2 separate regions of the Homo sapiens genome follow, and region 2 is linked to region 1. The links are contacts of gene promoters, found by promoter capture Hi-C in blood cells and fetal thymus (Javierre and others, 2016). All regions are on one chromosome and are shown on one strand. Each heading gives the region's core, a stretch centred on a gene start or on the middle of the fragment in contact. The rest is flanking DNA. Distances are from core to core; before and after follow the strand shown. Region 1 holds the start of GPR19 (G protein-coupled receptor 19). Region 2 has its middle 19 kb from the start of BCL2L14.

Region 1 (3,193 bases), core at 1-2,500:
TAGAAATCCTTCCATAAAAATACTTTTTAAAAAGTCACTTTGCCTGCCTTTTTTTTTGTTTTCAAACGAATCCAGTCATATCTGTAAAACAAGTTTCCATCAGATCTCATTTTATAAGCAACATCCTCTTCTAAGCCACCTGAAACTGACTTTGAAGAGCTCTTCAAACCATTTCAAAAATTTGTTTGTTGGCTTGTGCTTTCTTGGGTTAATGCTTCTAGAGTCGTCTCCAAGTTTCAAATTTTGCATGGCTGCTTTTTTTTTTTTTTTTTTTTTTTTACTTCGCTTCAAGAGTCAGTCTTAAATCATGTAGGTTTTGCTTGAGGTTTGCTCGAGCAAGAGGACCTTAGGTTTGGTCTTATTTGCATTTTTACCATAACTAGGCCTACATTCTAAATAAGTAACTAAATGCCACCTATGAGTTTCATTAACTGTGGCTGCTTGCCACTTTTTAGTTCTGGTTAGGGTGGTGCTATTGTTTTCCTCAGGTTCATTAGAAACATCTTCCGTGACAGCTCTGACGCGGCACCGATTTCTGAGTGTCCAGTGTTTTCCCTACCATTATTTTCTTTGGTCTGAAGTTGACACTTAAACTGTCCAGTTTTAAACCTCCGATCCGTGTTCCCAAATGAAAACATGACTTTCATTACGAATTACACGTCAAGGGAGCAAACCAAGGCGCTCGGGGCGGCGAGAACCGCGACACAGCGCTTCGCCTGGACTGGTAAACAAACCGCCGCGCAGGCGCAATGGCAACAGGACGGTAACCTGGGTAGCCGCCAATGGGCTTTTTCGTAGAGTGAAAAGCGGAAAAGCCAAACAAAACGCTGGTTCCAAGGTGATAAACTGGCTGACTTCCTCTATTTTTACTTTTTTAAAAAATTTTGTTTCTGAAGAAGTAGTTGTGCGGCCTTCTGGGCCTCGCAGAGATCTTCTTCGTGGAATTCCTCGGCCCCAGAGAAATGCCGCTAGCCTGTCGGCTAGTTATATTAGCCTAATTTTTTGTCTTGATCTTTTTCATTTGACTGCAGCACTAATCCTAATCCACTGGGGCAGCAAAAAAAAAAAAAAAAAAAAAAAAAAAAAAAAAAAAGGGCGGGTGGGATCTCAACGCCACGGAAAACCTTCATACTAGCCGGCCATCACCAAACCACGCGAGATCTGCCTGAGGAGAAGCGCCACCCCGGGAGTGCACGTTTGCGCATGCGTCTGGCTCATCATTTTTAGCGCGCAAAAGTTTCAAAACTTTCCGCCTAGTGAGAGGCGGTCCGATTTGGCCCTTGGGGAGTGTCCGTCGCGTTGATCTGATGGATTCACGTACACAACACCACATTCTATGAGATTTTGCAGGCAAAAGTCCACAAGCTCGTATGGTCATCCCTTCTTTCCGTTTTTATATTGGCCGTGAACTCTGTGAGGGGAGGTTTCAGCGACTGAAGTAGTAAAGGAGTGGGAGCGGGAGAGCCGATTAATGAGGTTGTAGAATAAGAGAGAAATCTGAAGGGACAAAGGAGTTTTATTTATTTTTTGGCTGGTGACCAAGAGGATGTGAGTGTGAGCTAAGGTAATACAGTGGGAAGGAGAAGATGGGAAGATTTGAGAGATAAATGAAGGCAGTAGCTCTGTAGCCTACCTGGGAGGCCAGACTAGAAAGAAGTTGACAGTAGAGGACATTTTTCTTAAAAGAGTGTGAACTTATGCATGTTTGTAAACAGGCAGAAATGGCATGCATTTAGTACATGGTGTATATAAGGTGGAAATCGGGACGCCCCTAATGGAATGGAATGAGGAAGATTCTAAAAGCCACAGTCCTGAACACAGGCCGAGGTGGAATTGCGAAGAACAGTCGCGGTAACAGAAGTCAGGAATTTGGGAACTGTCTCGAGGGATCTGACCAATCTGACCTCTTTTTGTCTCTCAGGATATATGGGACACCTGCACCGGCATTGGATTTGGCCCCGCAACATCTTAAAGGTACCACCCAACACCTGAAGTGTCTGCCTCCTTCCGATGGAGCCTCCTGGCCCCTCCCACCTCTCACCAGCTTTACCCTTTAGCCAGAATGAAATGTGGATTTCATGGAATGAAATGGTGGCATTTAGCTACCACATTACTCAGATGTGTCACTGACACCTTACAGAAGTACATACTTCTAGCCTCTAGCCTCCCAGTTCACTAGATATTAGAGTCCATCTTGATATCGGCAGCAATTCTATGCCACTTAGCTACTATAATTTGATTCTTTGTATACTATCTGGAGTACAAGGCAGAAGAATGCTGATGGAATACGTAATTTTACTCCAACAAAGGAATGGCTGATAGGTAAAGAGTATCACTTCATCTGTAAGAAAAACTAAATATGGAAAGCCACAGGATTGAAGCTAGCAGTGATGGAGAAGGATCCCAGTGTGAATATATAGAATGGAAGTACTTCAGTAAAGAGCCAGGCATGGTAATCACTTACCAAGAAAGTGACTTCATTTCATTTTGGCAGCCTAAAGTATATCCTGGCAGCTGCGCTGTATGTGTGAAGTGCATAGGAAAATGCTGCAGGAAAAATCCATGGAGGCAATGGAATAGGATTTCAGGGTTGAAGCCTGGGTGTCTTGTTTTAGGGAGTGGGATCATCCAGCTCTGAGAGGCATGACATCTCGATATGATGTCATATAAAGTGTGTACAATTGGGAATCAGACCTGGGCTTTGACTTTAGGGTCTGCCAGTCACTCTGTGTGTCCTGTCTGAATCTCAGTTTCTCAATTTATAAAATAAGGATAATAGTGCCTGTGCCATAGGATTATTGTAATGACAAAATGAGGTAGCATAGAACTTAGTGTAAAGTACATGCCACCTATCAGTTGAATTGTGGATGCTCTGTGCATCGTAGGTCCGTCTGTATTTAGGGAGCTTTAAGACAGGTACTCTACCGGGTCAGGCGCGGTAGCTCACGCCTGTAATCTCAGCACTTTGGGAGGCTGAGGCGGTCGGATCACAACGTCAGGAGATCGAGACCATCCTGGCAAATACGGTGAAACCCCGTCTCTACTAAAAAAAAAAAAATACAAAAAATTAGCCGGGCGTGGTGGTGGGCACCTGTAGACCCAGCTACTCCAGAGGCTGAGGCAGGAGAATGGCGTGAACCCGGGAGGCAGAGCTTGCAGTGAACCGAGATCACGCCACTGCACTCCAGCCTGG
Region 2 (3,193 bases), core at 229-2,728, 640 kb after region 1:
ACATGCTAGAGAAATGGTGGTGGTGGTGCTGGTGGTACCATCATCATTGTCATTCTAAGGACACTGTCCATGTCCCCAAGGGACCTGATCAGAATGGTGATGGGTGCTGCATCAGTGAAACAAGAATACTGAATTCATGAACCGTCTTGCTCTTCTACTACCCCTGCCCCAAACACACACCTCACTCCCTTGATATGGGCAGGCTTCTCACTTTTAGGCTTTGGCCTAAGTTGGAATGCTCAGACGTATACTCCTTTTGGTCTCTATCACTAAACTTTAGAAATTATCTCGTTCAGGGCTCTTATTTTAGGTATGCTCAAGGTCAGACAGAAGCTAAGAAACCAAGGTCCTGATACAGCAATCCCACTTCTGGGTATTTATCCAAAGGCATTGAAATCAGTATGTTGAAGAGACACCTGAACTCCCATGTTCATTGCAACACGATTTACCATAGCCAAGATATGGAATCAATCTAGGTGTCCATCAACAGATGAATGAATAAAGAAAATGTGGTATATATGCACAATAGAATACTACTCAGCCTTAAACAGGGGTGAAATCCTGTGATTTGGGACAACATGGATGAATCTGGAGGACACTACGCTAAGTGAAATAAGCCAGGCACAGAAAGACAAATATTGCACGATCTCACTCATAGGTAGGATCTGAGAAAGTTGATCTCATAGAAGTAGAGAGTACAATGGTGGTTACCAGGGACTGGGGGTGGAGCGGTGGTTGGGAAAAGGCTACACAGTTTCAGTTAGACAAGAGGAATAAGCTTTACTAATCAATTGCACAGCATGGTAACTATAATAAGTAATAATGCATTGTATATTTCAAAATTGCTAAAAGTAGATCTTAAATGTTTTTACTGCAAAAAATTGGTAAGTTTGTGAGGTGATGGATTTACTAATTAGCCTGATTTAATCATTCCACATTGTAAACCTATATCAAAACATCAAATTGTACTCCATAAACATGTATTATTACTACTTGTTAATGAAAAATAAAAATAAAACGAAAAACAAAGGAAGAAGAAAAAAACCTCAAAAAAGAAAAAGAAAACAAGGTCCTCAGCCGTGTCCTATTTTCTTTGCACTCACCACCCACGTCCTTCTCACATCTGATTGTTGAAGTCTTTCCAACTCCAACTCAATTCCACTTCTTCTTAGAACCTTTCCAGATCCTCCAAGGTAAGCTGGGCTACTCTTTCCCCATGCCTATATGATTGTAAGTTGTGTGTAGCTATTACAGTACTTACGGTCTTTGTTTTAGTGTCCATCACCTATGCCTCTTGTCTTCACCCTGTTTGCCTAAAGAGCAAGGAGATAATATTCGCTTTAGGGTCCCACTTGGCACAAGCATGGTGCTTTGCATATATTAGACTATCATGAAGTGCTCATTGAATTGGGTATTAAGATTGTATAATGTGGACTATTTATCTTAGAAGAGAGAAGATTTAGGAGGAATGGAATTGACTCTCATGGAAAGATTCGATTCAGCTACCTAGTGCTAAAGAGCAGAATGGGGACCAGGGGCTGAAAGTTACCAGGGGGTAAATTTGATCTGGCTGTGTGGGGCGGATTCTTCCCAGTGACAATCATTTAATGAGGAGATGGGTGCCTCATGAGAGGCGAGTTAAGGTATTCAAGCAGAGGCAGGATGGCCACTGTCAGGAGTGGAGTAGAGGGGAACCCTCGGGATTCCCTGTTTATTAGCTGAGTTTCAACATCACTAGAAACCTCGGTGATGTTTTAGGTTCCCATGTAGCTACAGACTACAGCAGACGCATGGGGTACCTGATGTGCAAACAGGGTTGAGACAGGCCTAGCACTGCCCAGTAGACCTGAGTCTGGCTTAGGTTCATTCTTGACTCTTGCTAGTCTAGTCTGCAAGAAGCTGAACTCACGAAAAGCCAGCTCCTTTTCCCACCATCTCTATTTATTAACCCCTCCCTCACTCTTATACACCCTGCTCACTGCTGTCTGGTGCCCCTACAAGGTCAATTTCACGCTGAACTTTACTACAGTGAAAAGTCCTGAGTTTCATCTAAAAGCATTTGAGGTGTCTTAAGTTAAATTCTAAAACCTTTCAGTTTAGCTTCAGTTTATGGTGCTATTCAATCCTTATCGAGCACTTCCGCCAAAAGGTCCTAAATCTCTCTCTTATGCAAGCTTCCACGGGCTGCATGAGGCCCAGGATGGCTTTGAATGTGGCTCAACACAAATTTGTAAACTTTCTTAAAACATTATGAGATTTATGCACGGCCATTCTTTTTTCTTTTCTTTTCTTTTCTTTTTTTTTTTTTTTTTTTTAGCTCATCAGCTATTAGTGTTAGTGTGTTTTATGTGTGGCCCAAGACAATTCTTCTTCCAGTGTGGCCCAGGGAAGCCAAAAGATTGGACACCCCTGTAAATAGGCTCTTAGACTCGAAGCTATAGTTTCTGTAGTTCTTCTGCCTATTCTATTTCCTTCTCAAATTACGGGTCGCACTGTTCCTTTTCAATTTGGGTTCCAGGTCTACTCCTATAAGCTTCTGGCTAAAACCTTTCTGTTTTTGCAGACTCCTCACTAATAAGTGTCCCCCTTGGCATTTTGCTCTTAGGATCTGGTTTTCCATATTTTTGAGGCTCTTTGTTTCTTCTTTTCTTTTCTTTTCTTTTTTTTTTTTTTTTTGAGATGGTGTCTCCCTCTGTCGCCCAGGTTGGAGTGCAGTGGCGCAATCTAGGCTCACTGCAAGCTCCGCCTCTCGGGTTCACGCCATTCTCCTGCCTCAGCCTCCCGAGTAGCTGGGACTACATGCGCCCGCCACCACGCCCAGCTAATTGAGGCTCTTTCAAGACTCCTGTCCAGCCTTTGCATGCCAGGGCATTAGTCGTGGCCTCCTATTGAACCCCACCTCCTCCCAAGTCCATCTAGGTCTCTTTACATCACAGTTTTGCTCCCTACCCTTGGCCCTGAGTGTTTCTGCCACCTGGCCTCATTCCTAAGGTTCTTGCTCAGGGAGGTCAGTAGACTATCTGCCATATATCAGCCTGATAAACGGATTGTCTCCCAAGCATCTTCCTTCACACATTAAATTTTAGGAAATATCAAACTTAAGAGTGGACTCTATTTCAAAAGCACATTTATAAGAAACTTATGTAGCACTCACATTTCCCCCTTACAATAACGTTCTTCTAGGTGGTTAGTT

What was found. The method cuts DNA at HindIII sites, captures the fragments that hold promoters and counts their contacts. A CHiCAGO score of 5 or more calls a contact.
Region 2: a contact is called between a fragment that was not itself captured here and the fragment with the promoter of GPR19 in region 1, in 1 of 17 cell types (endothelial precursors). The highest score is 5.0, in endothelial precursors.

What each region holds. Positions count from the first base shown.
Region 1 is chr12:12,694,240-12,697,432 of GRCh38, reverse strand. It overlaps GPR19 (G protein-coupled receptor 19), which reads left to right and starts at 1,250. Exons shown (of 4, transcript NM_006143.3): 1 at 1,250-1,368; 2 at 1,922-1,974. RefSeq lists enhancers at 1,083-1,162, 1,343-1,502. The HindIII fragment of the contact is 8,608 bases long and covers 1-3,193 here.
Region 2 is chr12:12,049,916-12,053,108 of GRCh38, reverse strand. It overlaps a transcript of BCL2L14 not described here. Among named protein-coding and RNA genes, the nearest start is that of BCL2L14, 19 kb to the left of the region's middle. The HindIII fragment of the contact is 1,396 bases long and covers 781-2,176 here.